Regions from separate parts of the Homo sapiens genome. Here regions 2, 3, 4, 5, 6 and 7 are each linked to region 1. Evidence: promoter capture Hi-C in 16 types of primary human blood cells and fetal thymus (Javierre and others, 2016). All regions are on one chromosome and are shown on one strand. The core of a region is centred on a gene start or on the middle of the fragment in contact, and the rest is flanking DNA. Distances in the headings are between cores, read along the strand shown.

Region 1 (2,862 bases), core at 258-2,757:
GCGTCAGTCTTTCCCCTGTATTCTATATTAAAGTAGAATATCTGCAGACATAAGTGCAATTAATGTTTTACATAGGCTGCCAACACCAAAGGGCTTTAAAATCGTTTCTCGATTTTGTCATCGACTGAAATCTCACAATTTTCCTCATGAGTAGCATCATATTTGCATCATAAAAATGTCAGTGGCGGTAACTTGAGTATTGCATAGGTTGGATTTTCCTTTTCCTTAAAACTCTGTATCAATGGTCTTATTTTAAATAACGCTATCAATTTACCTGTGTGCCAAAAATAAGTATTTCAAACATCTCAGAGGTGAAGAGTTCAAAAGGCATCAGTTTTCATCTCCTCCACAATAATGAAGGATGTTATTAATACAACCTCATTGAACTGAGCTTCTCTATCAAATGGGTCTAATTAACATTACATGCGTCCCAGGGTGGTTATGAAGATTAAATAAGATAAAGCAATAATGGCTGGCATGCAGAAAATATAAACTAAATGCTAGTTCAATCTGAAAACGTGTTGTCACTTCTCACGATACGCAAGGAATCATCTCACTTCTTTGTCAATCAAAATTTCAATTCACTGATCATTTCCCGTCCTTCACCTAATAGTCATTTTCGCTTTGGATCCTTAACTCGACATCTAGGTGCTGTAGATGACATTCACTCATTTTATACGGGAGTAGGCATGGTAGTAAAACGTGGAGGCCACAAGAAGAACAAGCAACAAATGCCGCTAGTAATAAAAAGATAACTAACGTACCACCAGGATGAACCTATCAAAACAGCGTGAAGATACAGAGTAATGTCCCTTACCAAGAACACTTGTAAGAGGTTTGTAACAGCGGATCGACTGAACACAAACTTCTACAAGGCAGAGCTTACATGCTAGGACAACCCGCTGCTCATCCCGGCCACCTCTCCCTCTCGCGCAGGCAATCACAGCCATCACTACTTCGGGAACTACAAAGCAAGCTCACCAGTACCTCGTTAATTTTTGCTTCCCCAGAGACTGGAGGGCCAGAGGAGAAACGTGTTCGTTCTAAATTCCAGGCGACTTAAAAGGAGTGCGGGGACGACGGGGGAAACACGTGGATCCATGGGAGCGTCTCTCTCCGCAGTGGCAGAGGACAGTCAGGCGCCGGGGCCGGGCGCTCGCCAAGGGAACGCGGCGCAACAGAGGGGCGGCCGGCGGGCTGCGCGGGCAGCCAAGGGAGGCCCAGGAGGGGCATGGACCTGGGGCCGCGCGAGGACGGCTGCAGGAGATCCGCGGACACCCTCCGGCCCAAAGGGCCTCCCCTGCTGATGAGGTGGAGGGGAGGGAGGGCTGGCGGCGCGTTCCTCTTACCGTCGGAATTGGTCTCAGGATCGAAGCGCTGACCGCAGCCCCGGTTGTAGCACAGCAAGGCCATTTTCTTTTCCCACCGTCACAGGCAAGGCCCAAACACCGGGAACGGCAAGAGGATGCGTTTGCCACTCCCGTGTCGCTAGCACCGGTCTGACGACTGAGGCGGCTACCGGCTTCCGGAAACGATCCGTTGCGTTTCAGGAACCTTCGCGAATTTTCCGGTCGCGCAGGCGCAGAGGAGAAGGGACGAGGCGGAGGTAGCGGCGGGAGGCTGGCACTAGCCCGGGCCACGATAGGTCGGACTACAGCTGGTAGCAACTGGGGGTCGGAAGTGGAGCCCAGACAACAGCGGAGGAGAAATTTCCGGGGCAGAAAATGAAGGTGTCCGAGAGACTGACAATTCTCTTCTGACTTCCTCAGTGCTAACTGGCTTTGGGTATCTCCTGCAGCAAAGTGGCCGCCCCGCCCTCTCATCCCCTGCGACCCAGCACCCTTCTTCCTTGCCTTGAGGCTGCGCCTTAGACAGCCCGGTGGGTATCTGTTTACCCCTTAGCACTAAGGGATAAGTGCACAGTAAGTGCAGAATCATACAGTGTTTCCAAATCCTCAGGGTAGACGTGTGAGCTTAGTAAATGAGAGGAATAGCGGACGAACCTCTCCGTGTGTTTGTGTCTCGAGTGCCCTCATCTCAGGAGCAATTTTAATAACTTAACAGTTGCGGTCACATTACTTTGAAAATACAAAAAACGTAGAAATCAGAGTAGCAAAGAAAATTATGGATCTGATGCTGTGCCAGAATTGATCACAGTTGCTCTAAAGCCCTGGGGTAATAGTTAATATTTCATGTGAGCCTCCACTTAAACGATTTATCAATACTCAGTACACCACTCTTGGAACAGCTAGTAAAACTTCAGGTGCATTATAAAAAGTACAGTAATGCATTGGCTTCAACTTGCATATTTCCCAAACATGGGCGTTTGCAAGAAAAGCAAACACTTTTTGATAACATATACTGAAGGATCTTAAAATAAGATCAGCAGCTTATAAGTGAACCTAAAAATCTATACACTGTTTCCATTGATCTCAAGGTTATTTAGAGATCTGCTCACGTCCTCCTACCCCTAAAGACTTTTTAGTTTTTCATATTCTCTTTCTCTTCTTCTACCTAGAAGTATTAAATTTTCATATTGTGATCCACCATAGATAGGTATGTTTTCTTCATTTAACCTAACGTGAGTATTTTTCTATTTTGTTTCATAGTCATTGTTACAAATGACGGAGTATTCTGTTGAATAAATGCACTGTAATTTAACCTTTCTCTAATTTCCCCAACTTTATTATATATAAGTTACAGTGCTCAACCTGTGTATTGTTTTTCTTATTTCGAATTTCCCCCTTTAGGAAAATTTTTGGAAAGCGACAGTTCTGGGGTAAAGGGCATAAGGCTTTTTAAATAACTTTAAGATTTTAAAGATATATAGAGCCAATTGCTTTCCGAAAGGTGGTACCAATT
Region 2 (2,862 bases), core at 94-2,593, 4.3 Mb after region 1:
ATATTAAATTGAGTAGGTTCAGCTCTAACATACCTTAAGAAAAATGCATATCGGTGCACTGTATGTATTTCAAAATGCCTTTCCTATGATTGTCATGTCCTCCTTTAAGGCTTTTCCCTCAAATTTATTACAAATTTAGTATTTTTAGTACTTGATGACTCTAATTACATGAATGCACCTGGAATGACATTTGTAACAGAAGACGGTCTGACTTGCTTTCAGTATTCACAAGTTCTTTCCAGTTTCCAAGTCTTTTCCTAGCAGTAATTTAGGGGAGACAGAGGAGTTTCATGTAAAGAGCATGCAGTTTGGAGTCAGAACCTGGGTATGACTCTGTGGCCTTGATGAAGCAAGTTACTTAAACTCTTGAGTTTTAGCTTTCTCCTTTACAATGCATGAATGCCTATCCCCCTACAAAACAAAGATTAAATGTGATGATGTATGCCAAGGTGCTTTGTATATTGTAAAGTGCTATATAATTATAAGATGTTCTAAATTTTCAAGGATCTAAACCAGGGATTGGCAAACGTTTTTCCAGGGAGTAAATATTTTACGCTTTGCATATATAATTTATGGAGGTGTTGAGAGGATAGATTAGACACTTGAAGTACTCAGGATAGTGCCTGGCATGTAGGAAGCACCTGGAAAATATTCGCTGTGATTACCATCAGTCCATTTTACCGAGGAAGGAGCCAAGGTCCAGGCCCACTGAAGGACTTGCATAACATTACAATAGCAGTGGCAGAACCAGCCATGCTTCTGCAAATCACAACCTCTTTGAGCCTCTGTCACCTGAACTGCAAAATGAGTGGGTTAGACAAAATCATCTGTTGGGACCTCCTAGTTCCACGTGCTATCATTCTACTAACTGGCACCCTAAGGTTGAAAGTGCTTATCTGCTTTCCAATGTGGCTTCCTTACAGTCTGGAACTGACAATATGCAGGAGCAGTAAACTGGCAGAAAACCAGGAATCAGAGAAAGAAAATATAATTTAACTTTAAAGATGTAAATTATATATATAGTATATTATATATATTTTTAAAGCTTTATATGCCTCAAATATCAGGGAAAGGAGCCAAGTCCTTGGTATTTAGTTTGGTGAATACTTGCATTGAATACATGTCAAGATGTCAAGTCATTTTTGAATGTGTCTCAGGGATTTCTATGCTACACATTCTTTTAACAAATCAAGTATTTATGTACACATGTTCAGATTTTTTGACAAAATGATTAAAATAATGAGATGGAAAATGACTCTGTTTATAATGTATATCCTCCATGCACTAATGTGTTCAGTCGTCACCCATGGGATATTTCTTGGCTTGGGGCAGTTTCTGTAAGTTCACTAGTTCTAGATTGGTAATTGGAATGTGATGGCTTTGCCTCTTCTGTGTTGCACAAAGTCCAATTCAGCCTGTCCTCTTGTTCTTTCTTGCCTGTCTTTTCCACTTTATTCTGAGGAATCATCTCCAAGGGCATAAGTAGTATACTCCTTTCTCTCAGTCCAGTTTATTTTCCTGAGTGCTCTGATGTGATGCCCTCCATGTATTGTCTCTAGCTCCTGTTCACTAAATTAAATGCCATTTTAAAAAGAGTAGGATCAGAACTGGGAACATGATGATGGGCAGAGAGAAGGGGAGGCAAGCTTTCTTCTTAACAGCCGATGCTTAAATTATTGAAATAGGAAAATACGAAGTGGTAATAAACACTAACTATTGTCTCTTCTTTCCTACCTGCCCTCCTCCAACACCACACACACGCACGCACGCACACACACATGCATGCACACACACACACTCTGACATGTTCATTTAAGCACAGACTTTGAAAAATTATGATGGCCAGCTGAAGATAGGAGCAGGATTGGCAAGAAAAAAGGATTCAATAATGAATGAGTAAAAAGAAAAGTGCATTGTAAAATAGAGCAGGTGGTGAATATAGATGGGGAGTGAAGAGGAAAAGAAAGATGGGGGTGGGGATAAAAGTACAAAGTGAAGAGACGATCAGATAGAAGAAAGGCAGAGGCTAGGAAACATGAGAAAAGTAGAGGAAAGATAAGTGTTAAACGGCAAGAGTGGCAGGACAAAGGAGGAACATATGCGGCAAGAATGAGGAAATAGGTTAAAATCTACCATTCTCTGCCACAATGCTGAAAAGAAACCTTTGCTCCAGCTTGAAACGCAGCATCTGTCAGCAAATGGGGAGTCAAATCAAGAAGTCTGAACTCACTGACAGGGAAAGTCAGAAACTTAACAAGAAATCACCTAACATTTTAGCAGAAATATAGAACTGTCCCTTGATTCATGACAACAGATTCTTGAACTTGAATGAATGGTCCTTTTCTTCATCTTGGAAAATTCGCATTCATGGCCACTTTTTCATTTCTAGACAGCATATTTCATCTGTACTCAATATTCACTTTTAAAGAAGTATATTTTGTTATGTTGTCATAATCACCAATTTACTGTTTTAAAGAATAGAAGGCCAGGTGCGGTAGCTCACGCCTGTAATCCCAGCACTTTGGGAGGCTGAGGTGGGCAGATCATGAGGTCAGGAGATGGAGACCATCCTGGCTAACACAGTGAAACCCCGTCTGTACTAAAAATACAAAAAATTAGCCGGACGTGGTGGTGGGTTCCTGTAGTCCCAGCTACTCGGGAGGCTGAGGCAGGAGAATTGCTTGAACCAGGGATTTGGAGGTTGCAGTGAGCTGAGATCATGCCACAGTACTCCAGCCTGGCGACAGAGCAAGACTCCATCTCAAAAAAAAAAAAAAAAAAAAAAAAAGCTATTTCAAGTAAGTTTTAAAGAATTGGATTTTTATGATGGATTTATTTTCAGATCTTCAAATGAATGTTTTA
Region 3 (2,862 bases), core at 270-2,769, 4.3 Mb after region 1:
TCATTCCTCACTGTCATAGCCAGTGTCTGCCAGGAACATTTGTAGCAGGATGTGGGGAAGACAGAGGTCTTCATATGGAAGCACAGTGTCCAGATAATCTAGGGACATGCAGCTGTGTATATAAGTCCTCAAAATAGACCTACAATTGGGAGATTACCCTGGGTAAAAAGGGAGAAGTAGATAAAATTCAAGCTTGGGTACTCAACCAAGATATGAATCATAATAGCAATGCTATATAGCATTGCTTATTCTAGATTCTTAATATATACAATAATAGGCTGGGCACAGTGGCTCACACCTGTAATCCCAGTACTTTAGGAGGCCAAGGTAGGCAGAAACTCAGGCACAGAGAGGTGAAATAATTTACCCCGGTTCGCTCAGCTAACAAGTAGAAGAGTAGAAATGCTGGGATTTGAACCAAAGCAGCCTGTCTCCAAAGTCCATGCTTTCAACCACTAGACACTACTGCATCTCTGAGCCAAGTGCCCACGAGCTAGGATGTCTATTGGACCTGAAGTGAGATGAGAGTTCAATAAAAGTGTCACATAGGAGTAGGGTCCCCAGGGGGCCAGGGATGCAGCCTCTGGGATATGGACTCAGTAAGGGAAAAAATACAGCCACTAAGAAACTGAAACAAGAGGTTAAAAAAACAAACACAAAACTTGTTACTAAAGGGGATTCATGTAGCAAACAGGAGCCAGTTAGGAAGACTTCAGTTTAATGATAATAAAGTAGTAGTAGCCACCATTTATCAGGAGCCAGGCATGGCAGCAAGTGTTTTATACAGTTATGTAATCCACATGATCATATGAGTTGAGGATTATAATCTCCATTTTCTGGGTAAGAAAACTGAGGCATAGAGACACTTTACTACCTACAATCCCATGTCTAGCAGGTAGTGGAGCCAGAACTACAAACCCATGTCCATCTGGCTTCCAAGACTATGCCCTCAGTTCCAAGACTATGGCCCAACACTACTGGGCCATCATGGCAGAGAATCTAGTCACTGTGCAACAAGCAACAGTTGTTGTGTTGCGGTTAAATAGGTACAAATGCCAGGGATATGGAAACACAGGGTTTTAGGAATCTGGGAGGCAGCTACCTTCATAATTCACAAAGATATTAGTGTCCTGAATTAATGGTTGATTCAACCAAAGTCTGGGCCACTTGCCTATTGGAAGCTATTTATCTCAACTTTCCACTCAATTTCTTAGGTTCCACTTATTGTAGGTAATTCCATCATTCCAAGAAAACTCACTAAGTAATTTGTTTTAAAGATGAATGGTTTTCTGCGTGCATATTATGAGACTGATTGAATAACAAATTTCCTTTATTTAAAGACATACAAGTCCAATAAATTATCCAATTTATTGATTGGGGACATATGATAAAAAATGCATGTTTCATTTTGATCATAATTGCATTCCTTTCATCCATACAATTTAAGAGACATTTCATGGCTCCCGCTCATTTGTACTCATCCACACTACATTCCTAGTAGCCCTCGGCCCTCCATTTATTTCCAGCTGGTGCCAAGCCCTTACAGTGGTCATGTTACAATATGTAACTGTTATTGACACATAGCTTAGCTTCATCTCTTTAGGTTGCCAGCTGCATTTTTGTCATATCATATGAGCTGCTACTATCTGCTGTACAATCACAATTGATCAATCTATATGTCAGACTGGTAACCAAGAATTAAACCTTTCTCATTATCAATGAAAAAGGAAGATGCTAGGCACAGAAATATCATAGAAGAACAAAATCCATAGATAATTTTCAAAAATTGTCAGTAGTAATTAATACACTATCACAAACTCCATGGAGGCAGAGACTGTGTTTTACTCACCACTGTGTATCTGGCACTTAGCACAGTGCCTGGCACAGTAGGTGCTCAATTGCTATTAGTCATGAGAATGACCAATGAATGAATGAACCAGTAAGTATATGTTAAATGCCTCTTTATGTTTAGAATCTTCTTGCTGCTAACTCACATACATCCCCTGCTCCCTCAAAAGTATATCGTTTTCTCTACTTGAGACCACTAAACCAAATGCAAACAATAGAGGGAAAAGCAATGCAACCTACTTTCTTCACTGTGTGAATCTTGAAACGTTGCATATATTTTAAATACATCTTGGAACTAACACTTTCAAAGAGAGGTCTTCTGTGGCTTACAATGAGTTTTCCAGGAACTTCTCCCATAAAATATGCTTCAGTTAGATACTTCAGTCAAATCCCACTGTCAATTTAAACAATTCACTTGTGCTTTTCTTCTCTCTTTCTCATGAACAATGTGATCATGGTAGTTGGGACTCTTCCAACATATAATACACATCATTTAAAGTTTAAATTTAGAATTATGATCATCCAACTGTAGTTCTAAAGCATGTTTCCATTAGAGACTGTGAAGCATCTACTGCTTTCATCACACTAAGAGGTTTTATTCATTTACTTTTATCAATCCCAGCACTCTGGGAGGCCAAGGCGGGCAGATCACTTGAGGCCAGGAGTTCAAGACCAGCCTGGTCAACATGGCGAAACCCCGTCTCTACTAAAAATACAAAAATTAGCAGGCGGGGTGACGCACGCTTCTAGTCCCAGCTACTCAGGAGGCTGAAGAACCAGAATCGCTTGAACCTGGGTGGCAGGGGTTGCAGCGACCCAAGATTGGGCCACTTCACTCCAGCCTGGGTGACAGAGCAAGACTGTGTTTCAAACAAACAAACAAACAAACAAACGGTAATGGTTGATGACAAAAAACCTTTTATCGTTTCCTTCTTATTCTGTGCCACAAAACAAGCCAAAAAAAAAAAAAAAAAAAAAAGCATTGTCTAGTCTGGTGCTAAGCTTGAATGTGCC
Region 4 (2,862 bases), core at 243-2,742, 4.3 Mb after region 1:
TTCTGGGATGTGTGCACGTTTCCTATTTTTAGAAGTTCTTTATATATTCTGGATCCTAGTTATTTTTTGGATATATGCTCTCTCGGTCTGTGGCTTGCCTTTTCACACTCTTACTGGTGATTTTAATGAAGAGAATATCTTAATTTTATTTATTTATTTACTTTATAGAGACAGGGTCTTGTGCTGTTGCCCAGGCTGGAGTGCACTGGTGTGATCGTAGCTCAGTGCAGCCTCAAATTCTGCGGCTCAAGCAATTCTCCTGCCTCAGCCTCCCAAGTAGCTAGGACTACTAATTCATGTATTTGTTTTTGTAGAGAATCTTGCTATATTGCCCCAGGCTGTTCTCAGACTCCTGGGCTCAAGCCATCCTCCCGCCTCAGCCTCCTAAAGTGCTGGTATTACAGGCATGAGCTACAGCATCTGGCCTGAGAATATCTTAATTTTAACGACCTCTACTATATCTATTGCCTTCTTTTGATTAGTGCTTTTGGTTTCCTGTTTAAAAAGTAGTTGTCTACTCCAAAGGGTAGACATGAGGAAGACATCATGAAGGTTTTTTTCATTGTTATACTCTAGAAGCTTTTGTGTTTTACCTTTAGTGCTATTTTGAGTTGATATTTGCATTTGACATGCGGTAGGAGTCAAAGTTCATTTTCCTATATTAATATCCAATTTATCAATGCCACTTATTAAAAGGAACAGCCCCTCACACAAACACACACACACTACATTGCAGTGACACTTTTATCATTTATCTGGTGATCATATTTAGTTGGGTCTGTTTCTAGATTCTATTTTATTTCATTGAGCTATCTTTGCCCCAATACCACAGTTTTAATATTTTGGCTTTATCATAAGTCTTATTATGTGGTAGTGTAGATATTCCAACTTCTTTCTTATTTTTCAAAGTTGTTTTGACCAGTCTTGGCCCACTACATTTACCTTTTTTTTTTTTTTTCGAGACAGAGTCTTGCTCTTTCACCCAGGCTGGAGTGCAGTGGCACGATCTCGGCTCACTGCAACCTCTGCCTCCTGGATTCAAGCCATTCTCCTGCCTCAGCCTCCCCAGTAGCTGGGATTACAGGCACGCACCACCACACCCAGTTAATTTTTGTATTTTTAGTAGAGACGGGGTTTCACCATGTTGGCCAGGTTGGTCTCAAACTCTTGACCTCGTGATCCGCCCTCCTCAGCCTGCCAAAGTGCTACATTTACTTTCTAATTTTAGAATCCCCTTGCCAACATCTATTTTAAACAACCCTGCTGAGATTCATATTGAGATTACATGAAATTTCTAGATCTAGTTGAGGAAAATTAACATCATTGTAATATTCAGTGTTATAATTCTTGAATATACTGTAATACATTTCTGCATTTATTTAGGTATTACTTTTTCTTGATAACGTTTTAGAGTATTCAGTTGGAGTTCTCTCTTTTTAAAGATTTATCCTTAATGTATTTTTTTGGCTCTCAATGCTGTTATAAATGTTATTGTCTTTTACATTCCATTTTTAATTTTTTTTACTATATAAAAGTAACATTTATTTTTCTCTATTGACCATGTGTCCACTGCCCTTGATAAATTTATTAATTCCAATAGCTTACCTGTACATTCATTTGAATTTTCTTTTTTTTCTTTTTGAGATGGAGTCTTGCTCTGTTGCCAGGCTGGAGTGCAGTGATGCGATCTCAGCTCACTGCAACCTCTACCTCCCGGGTTCAAGTGATTCTCCTGCCTCAGCCTCCGGAGTAGCTGGGACTACAGGCACGTACCACCACGCCCAGCTAATTTTTGTATTTTTAGTAGAGACGGGTTTTCACCATGTTGGCCAGATGGTCTCGATCCCTTGACCTCATGATCCACTCGCCTCAGCCTCCCAAAGTGCTGGATTACAGGCGTGACCCACCTTGCCTGGCCTGAATTTTCTATGTATACAGCCATGTTGACAGCCAATAACAGTTTAATTTCTTCCTTTTTTATTTTTTTAATGTGGTAAGTTATACAGTATTGATTTTAAACAACCTTGCATTCCTGCAATGATCAAAACTTGATCGTGATGTATGTATTATCCATTTTTTAACACGCTACATTTGGGTTATATTTGCTAATATTTTATTTAATATCTGAATTGATCTTCTTGAGAGATATTGACCTATAATTTTCCTTTTTAGTAATGTTCTTTCAGATTTTGGTATAAAGATGAGTTGGGAAGTGTTAACATTTTTTTTTAATTCCTGCAAGAGGTTAGACAGAACTGGTGTTATTTCATTCTTAAATGTTTGGAAGATACCAGTGAGGCTTTTTCTTTGTGGTATGTGTTTTAATTTTAAATTCCATATTTTTAGTAGTTATATTTTTATAACTACTTCTATTAAAGCTATATTTCTTCTTGTGTCTATTTTGGAAAGCTTTTAAGTAATTTCTCTATTTTATCTAAGTTGTCAAATTTACTAGCATCAAATTATTCAAAATATCTTCCTATCTTTTTAATGCCTGTAAGATCTTTAGGTATAGATTTACCATTTCTGATATTGGTGAAACTAATCTTAAAGAAGTTTATTCTGTGAGAACTAACAAATGACAGTTGACAGAATGAACAGCATCTTTAAAAATAGTTTCACTTAAAATTCTGAAATATTTCTTATTTGACTTTTTTCCCACTGCTTCTTGATAAAAACTAAGAACATAATGTTAAAATAGCATCATGAGTCAATCAAATGAAATCTAGGTGTTTTTGCTTTCAAATTATATAAACCCATATTAGGTAAGGATATAGTGAATATAAGTCATTTAGAATAACTTTTTGGAAATTATTTCTGCCATTTGGACTTCTGATAGGTGAGTTGCCATAATTCACCTAT
Region 5 (2,862 bases), core at 127-2,626, 4.0 Mb before region 1:
TTTGTCAGGAGCTTACTCTACTCCAGTCTCATCTCTTCTCACCAACTGAGGAGTGCTTAGTAGTGCCTGGAACATTGGAAGTACTGAACAAATGACTGCCGTCATTGAGACCTCAACTTTAATTTTTTTTCGGCTTCTTTATTTCAAAGTCTTCACTGCAGAAACCTCTCATTCTGACCTGCCTTTGCTTTACTTCCTTTTCTCATTCTCAACCAAGAGTTCTCTCTTTATCTACAAAAGAAAGAGTGACTTGCAATCTGCAGATAAGGAAACTGATGTCCTGGTTATAAAGTTATCATGCAGAAATAATTCAAGTATACTAGAATTTTATGGATGGTGCACTCTAGGTGGGTAATGAGGTCTAGAAGAGAAAAGATATACAACATCAAGCAGGTGCCCAAGAAATGGTAGGTCCCTTTCTCCCTTCCTGCCTCCTCATTTTTACAGATGAGGACATTTTTACAGAAGCCCGAATAGATAAGTAGTCACAATCATGTTCTAAGAAAAACAAAAAAAAGGTGGCGGATGCCGTATTTTATTTTTCGTCATCACTCTCCTTTTCCTGCTGCTCATTCAGTTATGGTTTCATGACCCATATAATAATTCCACAAGGCTCACCAATGTTATCTGGCACCTGCTAGAGAATAGATATAGTAACAGAGGCAAATATTTTGGTGAAGTTTAACAGTTGTGTTGCCTTCTAGAATTTCATTGTATCTGATGTGCAAAAACAAGCAAAACATTGTCGGTTAAGTATCACAATCTCATAATGGAGATGAGCACTGATTCTTAGGCCTTGGCGTAGTTCAGGGCCTATCCTTTAGCAGCTAAAAAGAGCACTTTGGCTGTAACTCATTGGAGTCTAGTCTCATAATGTTAGGATATTTCTATTTAAGTCTTAACCACTATTGGTAGCAACTGGAAGGATAATCATTCATTACAATAAATAGTCAACAGAATAAATATCCGACAAGAATTTACGAAGCGTCTAGAGTATAATTCGGTAGCGCTTTGAAATCCACCCTGGGATTCGGAAACCGGGTAGAAAACTACCTGGTTCAGCAAACGAGAATTCAAACAGAGGAGGGGCTTGGAGGAGGCGGGTTTCGACGAACCCAGCGCAAGAGTACGCCACGGCGCCTGCGCATCCCCTGACGGGTACTTTCCATTCGCCAGATGGGGGAAGCCAGGGGGAAGCAGGTTACTGTTTTTGCATTTCTATCTTCAAGGAAGAATTAGGTTATGAATAGTTCCGTGAATAGTCAGGAAGCGCTGTCCTCCAAGTTCAAGATTAAGGAAACGTGGCATGCACAGCTAAAGCAAGAGGTGACGTCTTGTATCTTCCCCCGTTTCCTGGGACATTGGTGGTGTAGCCCATTCCACAGACTTTCGCTCCCTAGCAGCGGGTCGGAGATCGAAGGAACGGGCCAATTGCGGCTGAAACGTCTTTGGAAGGAGGAAGGGGGTGAGGGAGCATCCCTTTGAGTTTCGCCTCTTCTCGAGGCGGTGGTGGGAAGGGAGACATACTTAATACTGCCCTCTTAATCCAACGGACCTTACATCGTGTAGACTGCCGGGAGGGCGGCGGGAAAAGGGCAAGACGGGAGTTGGGGAAGGGAAGGAGCCAGGAAGCCGCGCGGGAGGGCGCGCGCGCGCGCCCCTTTTTCAGCAGTGTGGCGGGGTCGCACGCACGCCCGCCTCGGCGGCTGGGCGCGATTTGCGACAGTGGGGGGGGCGGTGGAGGTGGCGGCGGCAGCGGCAACTTTGCGGCAAGCTCGGGCCGGGCTTGCTTGACGGCGGTGTGGCGGAGGCCCCGCCCCAGGCGGCAGGAACCTGGAGGGAGGCGGAGGAATATGTCCGAGAGGGAAGTGTCGACTGCGCCGGCGGGAACAGACATGCCTGCGGCCAAGAAGCAGAAGCTGAGCAGTGACGAGAACAGCAATCCAGACCTCTCTGGAGACGAGAATGTAAGTGCAGCTTCTGGCAGTTACGAGACTGCGGAGTGAAAGTTTTAAATTCTTTTAAAACGGGGGGCGCGGGGACGAGCGGGCTGCTGTGGGGGGAGGGAGAGGTGTCACTCAGGAAAACGCGGGCGTGCGGGAGAAAATTGAAATTGCCTACGGGGATTTTGATGTGGGGCCGAGAGCAAGCAGGAACTAGGCAAAGGAGAGTGGTTCTAGTGATTGCGTGGGTCTGAGAAGTCTGCCCTGAAATCAGTTTGCATGTGATGGGGAGTGTTTTGGCCTTTGGGGGGATTTAAGGGGAGAGTGCGGGTCTGAGATTCTAGTAGTTTAAAAGGCACGTTAGAGACTTTTCTAAGAAAGTTGGAAGGACGGGGCAGAGTTAGGGACCCTGTTAAAGGAGCGTAAGGGTTGTCACTCTAAGACCCTTGTGGAATTTTCAGGATGGAAAGTGATCTTCGATTTGCGGAGTTTGGGAGACTTTATTAAAGGGGGTTTTGTGTCCGCCTCCGTCCTGTCCGCGGAGACCGGGTGCGCCTGAAGGTCGCCTTTTCTGTAGGAGGAGCCGAATTGAGAGGATCGATTTTTGATTTGGGGGTGGGGAGTGACTACCTTTGAGGAAGTAAGAGTGGGTGATTTCTTCTTTGAACGTTTTTACTTAAGATAAAGGTGAGGGGGGTGGCGACCTGGAAGATTTTGGGCAACAGTGGTATAGGCAGATGTATTTAAGTGTGGGTTCCTGGCTTCGCCAAGTGCGCGATGTTTTGCAATCAGATTTTTTTAAGCTCTGAAATGGGTATTCGTAATCATTCGGTACCAACATTTAACCCAACTGAGTTTTAATTGACTCGCCAGTAAGAGCCGAATTGACATAAATAAGTTTTCAGTTTCATGTTTTAGG
Region 6 (2,862 bases), core at 212-2,711, 3.9 Mb before region 1:
AAAGTAGGAGTTGCTCAGAGAATTCAAAAGTATGGCTAGTGCACAAGGTGGGTATGAAGAAGACATGGAAAATTAGTTAGGAAAGGCAATAATGCTAAATATTAACATTTATTGAGTAAGCTACATTCTGGCCACTATTGAGTACTTTACGTGTAAGAACCCTCAAAACAACTTTATGAGGTAGATACTACTATTACTTCATTTTAAAGATGGGGAAAAGGAGGTATGGGAGTGTTAGGTTAACTTGCCTGAGATTATGTAACTAATAAATGGCAGAGATGGGCTCTGAACCCAGGTAGTGTGGGTGCCTTAATTTATGAAGTGGTCTTCATATGAATGGCCTTTTTATTCTGAAGGTTCTAGGACTTTTTAGATAGTAAGTTGGAAACATTGGTAGATCCTTTCCTACCTCTTCACCTTTGGCACAGCTATCTCAAAGGAGTATCGGTGATAAGATAGGTGATCAGTTTAGGGATCCACAGTGGAGGCCAGAGGACTGTTCCAAACACTGATCCCCCATATATAAACTGAGAACTGGGAAGACAGACCTGCTTTACGGCTGGTGGCCAAGCTCAGATATTTCAAATTGGACAGAGACCCTTTACTATCCTATTCAAGAAGAAAAGGAATTGGAGCTGTGAAAGGGAGAATAAGTATTGGTGGCAATCGGTACTTAATGCCAGTATTTTTTTTTTTTTTTTTGGCTATTGTTTTGTATTTCCTATGAAACTTTTCTGCAGATCCACATAGAAAAAAAATAGACATTTTTACAATAAAACTCCCACTAATTAAGCACAGCCAAGCACTGTTTTAAGTGTTTTATACATATTAGCTCATTTAATCCTCACAGCAACCCTAGGCAATAGGCTCATTATTTGTCTTTTGCAAAGGAGGGGCACTGAAGCACAAAGACATCTACAACTCGTCCACAATTGTACAGCAAATGAATGGGAGAACTAAGTGAAGCTGGAAAGAACTACTATAAATTGTAGACAAGTACAAAACAATTGGTTAAAGATTAATACTTCTGAGACACTGTGTAGCAGAAAGAAACCCGGATTTGGATTAGGACTTGAATTCAGCCTCCAACATTTACTGCTGTGTAAAGATTTGAGGCTGATCACTCCTATAAAATTTGGATTATAATACTTACCTCATAGGGTTTTTGTAAAGATCTAGTGACGTGATTATTGTAAAAGTGCACCGTTAATCTCTCAGATGTCACAGAAACGTTAGAAGCATCTCTTCCCAGGATTGTACATGGAAATGAAGGATCCACAGATTTTGTGGCTATAAAACACCCGGACTACCGATCCCAGTGTGCAAAGCCTCCAGGCTTACCTTCCCGGAAACTGGCGCGGTGCCCTCTGGGACTTGTTCTGGGACTTGTAGTCTTGTACTGGCGCTGGCCCGCCTTTCTTCCTTAGTGGGGAAAACCGGGTGTAAGCCCCGGAAGTACTTGTTGCCTGAGCAGTGGGCTGCTTAGGAAGAGAAGGTCAGAGTTCGCGGGGGCAGAGGCATTCTTGCCGCTGGCCCAGTCACTATGTAGTGGAGGGGCAGACACCCTCCCGCAAATTCTGGAAGGTTCTTAGTCTCGACTAGGGCAGTAGCCCCAGGACTCCTAGTCGCCGGCTTCAGGTCACTGCCGGCTGAACGGAGCTGCCGTCGCCATGTTTGGCTGCTTGGTGGCGGGGAGGCTGGTGAGGATGGGACCGGGTGATATCAGGAAGGGGTCAGGATACCGAGGGCGAAGCCCTACGGCAGGGAGGGTGCGCAGGCGCTAGGGATGCGGGGAAGCCCACTTATTATATTTTGGGTGGGTATGTGAGGATGGAGCGTGGGAAGCTGGGTGCTCTCCTTTGCCCAGCTCTATTCAGATTCTTTCGAATAGTAGTCACAGTATAAGTTGGCATTTATTAAGTGTGCATTTTGTACCAAGTACTGGGCTAAGTGCAATGCACGCCTTTGGTCACTCAGCCTTATGTGTGGCGCTTATTTGGCACTTTGAACTTAATCCTCATAACTCGTGAGATGGTCTTTATCTTTGACATTTTGCAGTTACAGAACTAAGTTCAATCGCCAGTATAAATACCTTCTTTATTAACTTGAGGTAGAGGTGAATTTGGGATTGAATTTGGTCTATAGCAAACTGTTTTTCAAAGATTAAGGTGCTCAGGGAATGTATATCTTTTGGGTCCCTTTGGAAGAACCCGAGTAAAAATAAGCTTAATTTAATTGGAAGTTGGCTGAAACTTAACGTGTGAGCCGTATCTGAGATAACCAGAGAAGGATGCGAGTAGTGTGTTTCCTTATGGGTCAAAATAGATAACTTACCTTGCCAAATTGTTAGAGTAAATGAGAACAGCACCTGGAATTCTTTAGGAATAATCTGGAAGGTGAATCTTGTTTGTTTCCTTAGAAACCACACAGACATCAATTTTCAGGCCTGATTCCTTTCCCCTAGAAGTATTTTTCCTTCTTTTTTCTCCTGGCTTTTTAAAATGTTGCAGTCCCTTTGCTGAATTGTCTTTTTTTCCCATCAAGTTTTGATAATGTATTGTATTCTGTACATATACAGTTCTAAGAAGCCAGAAAGATAAGTTGGAGATGACTAGCCTCATAAAGTTTGTCTCTTGAATGACTGGGAGACCCCTGTGGTGATGGTGGTAATTCATAATCCTGGTGAGATAATTTTGCCCTGCTCTTAATAGGGAAAAAGGACAAACCTGGAATGATTGTGTGACTCAGACGAGTGAGTGTTATTAATGAATGACATTAAAATTGTGTTTCTTAAAGAATAAAAAGCCTATTTGGAATCCATGTATCTCTCACGTTGTCAACTAATTTGGAAGGAAATTTAGT
Region 7 (2,862 bases), core at 363-2,862, 3.9 Mb after region 1:
GGTGCTCTGTGTGTAGCTAAAGTTTTGTAAATGCACCAATTATCACTCTGTGAAATGGACCAATCAGCGCTCTGTAAAATGGACCAATCAGCAAGATGTGGGCGGGGCCAAATAAGTGAATACAAGCTGGCCACCAGAGCGGCAAGCTGCTCAGCTTCCCTTCCATGCTGTGGAAGCTTTGTTCTTTTGTTCTTCACAATAAATCTTGCTGCTGCTCACTCTTTGGGTCCACACTACCTTTAAGAACAGTAACACTCAACACGAGGGCCCGTGGCTTCATTCTTGAAGTCAGTGAGACCAAGAACCCACCAGAAGGAATCAATTCCGGACACACTATTTTCCAACAAGTTCTCCATCTGGCTTCTATTTTAAATTCATTAAAAGTAGGATAACATCATATGGAATGTAAAAAATTGCCAAAACTGAGGGCAATTTATGCAACTGCTGAGATTCACTCCAGATCCTCAGAGGAACTTGCTATGTAATGAAAAAAGAGATACACAATCCATCATCCCATCACAGGAGGCAAAATGAACTAACTTCTAGGCCAGAGGAGAGAGTAACAAGGGAGGGAAGGATTCATTACAACTGGAGGATCCTGGAAGGCTTCCTAAAAAGGGGGCATTTGAGCCTAAAAAGGGGCCATTTGAGCCTATCGGATGATTAGCTTTTGGCAAGGAAAGAAGGGAAATGGCACCCATGATTTCCTGACTCCCAGAAAGCCCCTGTCCCAGCTCTGAATGTCCCAACTGACACATTCTCCCAGGCCCTACTTATTCTCTGCACCTCCCTTGGTATACCCCACTTTTCACAATAATCACTCTTTCTACCTTGCATTATAGTTAATTGTGTGCATGCCTTATTTCTCTTGCTAAGCCATAAGGTCTTTGAGGAAATGGAATCCATTCACTTCATTTCTGCTTCCCCATCCACTGAGCCCAGAACTGGCCCATCACCAGCCTCTAATATATGCCTGGAATGTATGGATAAATGAGTGTGAACTGGGCCAGTTTTAAAAAGTGTTCAGATTCCTTCAGACATTTATTTAATAATATGAATTAAAACATCAACTCTGTGTGAGGCATTTGTGCTAAGTGTTGAGGATAAAAGTGGTACACATGGGCATGGGCCTACCCTCAAGAAGCCGATCACATAAAGTGGTGGCAAACACTAAATAAATGAATAAATATTTGTTGAGTTGCAATGGTGACTATTTTTAAGAAGGAAAAATAGAGAACAATGACAGATGAAATGTACCTAGATTCACAAGGTGCCAGGCACTGGGCACTACCCACGTGTTAACTCATTTGGTCCTTATCACAGTCCTAAGAGGTACAACCTTTTTACAGATGAGAAAACTGAGACACAGGAGAGTCAAAGAACTCCCCAAGACTAATAGCTAGTAACTAGTGTGGCTAGTATTATGGGAGAATTTCACAAAGGGACCTAATCTAGTCTGTCTACTTAGGGAAGGCTTTCCCAGGGAAGTGACATCAAGCTGAGGCCAGAAGGGTGAATAAAGGTGGGCCAGGCAAAGAGGCCACTGTGGGGAGTGTTTTGGGTGGGAAGGCCTGGAGGAGGCCAAGGGCTTAGCTAACTTGAAGAACTGAAAGGAAAGCAGTGAAGCTGGTGGTGAGGTAGGCAGAGGCCATGCTAAGAAATTTGTATTTTATGCTAAAAACAATGTACACTTTAAGTAGAAAAGATGATCCGACTGGAGTTTTGAAAAGCTCATCCTGGCAGCTGTAGAGGAGAATGGAGGGGGACCCTGTCTCACATATTTCCTATATGTGGTTAGGAGACAGGATGGTGAGTTGAATTGGGTATTGGCAGTGCAGGTGGAGGGGTGTCAGATTTGCTATATTTAGGAGAGAGAAGCAAGAGAATTTGAAAATTGGTTATGGCAGCTGTGAGAAATGGAGTGTTGAAGATGGTGCTCCAGGATTCCGACTTGGGTGCACAGGTGGCTGGTGGTACATTTAGTAAGATGGGGAAGATGGAGTTCAGGTTTAAGGGGAAGATGAAGACTGAAGTCCTGGCCGTTATGAGTTTGAAGCCCTATGAGCCATCTACGCGGAGAGAGCTGTATACGCTCTTGGATGTGTGTTTAGCGGCCAGGCTGGGGTGGAGAGGTACATGTGGGAGTTGAGGCTTGTATCTGTGGACCCACAGAGAAGGGAGCCAAGCCCTGCCCCAAGGAGCCCTCATGTTTGCAGGTCCTGCCTGCTTCAAATGTTACTGGTGATAACCTACATGTCACATTTGACAGGGCTTCCAAACTAAGCCATCTAAGAAAGGTCTTATGATTCATGGCTTAGATCCTGTCCCTGAGTAAAAAATCTTACTGTGAGTCCTTCAAATCCTTTTGTCAGTTCCTCAAACTGCTGATGTACTGATTAGTATGTAAAATACTGACATTGAAAAGAACACTGACTTGTTTCTGAATCATATAAACTTTGATTTTCTTGTGCACAAAACATTTTAGCCTGTATGTTGTCATCTGCAGCCAGTGACTGTAACCTGTGTACCATACCCTCCGATGAAAAAAATCCCACCTCTGATATAAGGGGTCCTCCTCCCTTTTCCTAAACTTTCTTCTAAAACCCTTCCAACGTGTAACAAATTTTGAAACATGCCCAACTTTGCTGGTAAGTCTTCTTGGGTGGATCCTCACATTTAGCTTCCAATAAATCAAATTATTTCTACTTCAACAGCCTTAATTTCCGTGGACACTGGTCAGAGTATTTCCTCCTGTCTTTCCATCATCCACTTCCTATGAGCTGTTCAGAAGCAGCTCTCTGCAGCCCCAACACCCACCTACCTGCAGGCCCCCCTCTCTCTGCTGGCTCCCGGAACAAGGCT

What was found. Contacts are between HindIII fragments. The CHiCAGO score rates a contact against its expected background, and 5 or more counts as called.
Region 2: a contact is called between a fragment that was not itself captured here and the fragment with the promoter of CHORDC1 in region 1, in 4 of 17 cell types (non-activated CD4 T cells, activated CD4 T cells, total CD4 T cells and 1 more). The highest score is 7.7, in non-activated CD4 T cells.
Region 3: a fragment that was not itself captured here is called in contact with the fragment with the promoter of CHORDC1 in region 1 in 1 of 17 cell types (activated CD4 T cells); the score reaches 5.8 in activated CD4 T cells.
Region 4: a contact is called between a fragment that was not itself captured here and the fragment with the promoter of CHORDC1 in region 1, in 5 of 17 cell types (total B cells, naive CD8 T cells, naive CD4 T cells and 2 more). The highest score is 11.7, in total B cells.
Region 5: a contact is called between the fragment with the promoter of EED here and the fragment with the promoter of CHORDC1 in region 1, in 1 of 17 cell types (non-activated CD4 T cells). The highest score is 5.7, in non-activated CD4 T cells.
Region 6: the fragment with the promoter of HIKESHI here is called in contact with the fragment with the promoter of CHORDC1 in region 1 in 1 of 17 cell types (non-activated CD4 T cells); the score reaches 7.3 in non-activated CD4 T cells.
Region 7: a contact is called between a fragment that was not itself captured here and the fragment with the promoter of CHORDC1 in region 1, in 3 of 17 cell types (non-activated CD4 T cells, total CD4 T cells and activated CD4 T cells). The highest score is 7.5, in non-activated CD4 T cells.

Annotation. Positions count from the first base shown.
Region 1 is chr11:90,221,542-90,224,403 of GRCh38, forward strand. It overlaps CHORDC1 (cysteine and histidine rich domain containing 1), which reads right to left and starts at 1,508. Exons shown (of 11, transcript NM_012124.3): 1 at 1,350-1,508. The coding sequence starts at 1,413. LOC124902812 (a long non-coding RNA gene) reads left to right here and starts at 1,618. Exons shown (of 2, transcript XR_007062978.1): 1 at 1,618-1,879. The HindIII fragment of the contact is 11,072 bases long and covers 1-2,862 here.
Region 2 is chr11:94,548,644-94,551,505 of GRCh38, forward strand. FUT4 (fucosyltransferase 4) reads left to right here. Exons shown (of 1, transcript NM_002033.4): 1 at 1-1,252. The region is part of intron 4 of PIWIL4-AS1 (PIWIL4 antisense RNA 1); the gene reads right to left. Among named protein-coding and RNA genes, the nearest start is that of FUT4, 6.2 kb to the left of the region's middle. The HindIII fragment of the contact is 601 bases long and covers 1,044-1,644 here.
Region 3 is chr11:94,528,722-94,531,583 of GRCh38, forward strand. All of the region lies in intron 3 of C11orf97 (chromosome 11 open reading frame 97), which reads left to right. Among named protein-coding and RNA genes, the nearest start is that of FUT4, 14 kb to the right of the region's middle. The HindIII fragment of the contact is 2,658 bases long and covers 191-2,848 here.
Region 4 is chr11:94,507,821-94,510,682 of GRCh38, forward strand. It overlaps a transcript of MRE11 not described here. Among named protein-coding and RNA genes, the nearest start is that of C11orf97, 3.2 kb to the right of the region's middle. The HindIII fragment of the contact is 1,830 bases long and covers 578-2,407 here.
Region 5 is chr11:86,243,377-86,246,238 of GRCh38, forward strand. EED (embryonic ectoderm development) reads left to right here and starts at 1,377. Exons shown (of 12, transcript NM_003797.5): 1 at 1,377-1,967. The coding sequence starts at 1,854. RefSeq lists enhancers at 830-1,360, 1,361-1,889. The HindIII fragment of the contact is 4,943 bases long and covers 1-2,862 here.
Region 6 is chr11:86,300,779-86,303,640 of GRCh38, forward strand. HIKESHI (heat shock protein nuclear import factor hikeshi) reads left to right here and starts at 1,462. Exons shown (of 5, transcript NM_016401.4): 1 at 1,462-1,700. The coding sequence starts at 1,671. The HindIII fragment of the contact is 4,753 bases long and covers 1-2,223 here.
Region 7 is chr11:94,125,505-94,128,366 of GRCh38, forward strand. No RefSeq gene overlaps it. Among named protein-coding and RNA genes, the nearest start is that of PANX1, 1.9 kb to the right of the region's middle. The HindIII fragment of the contact is 2,877 bases long and covers 175-2,862 here.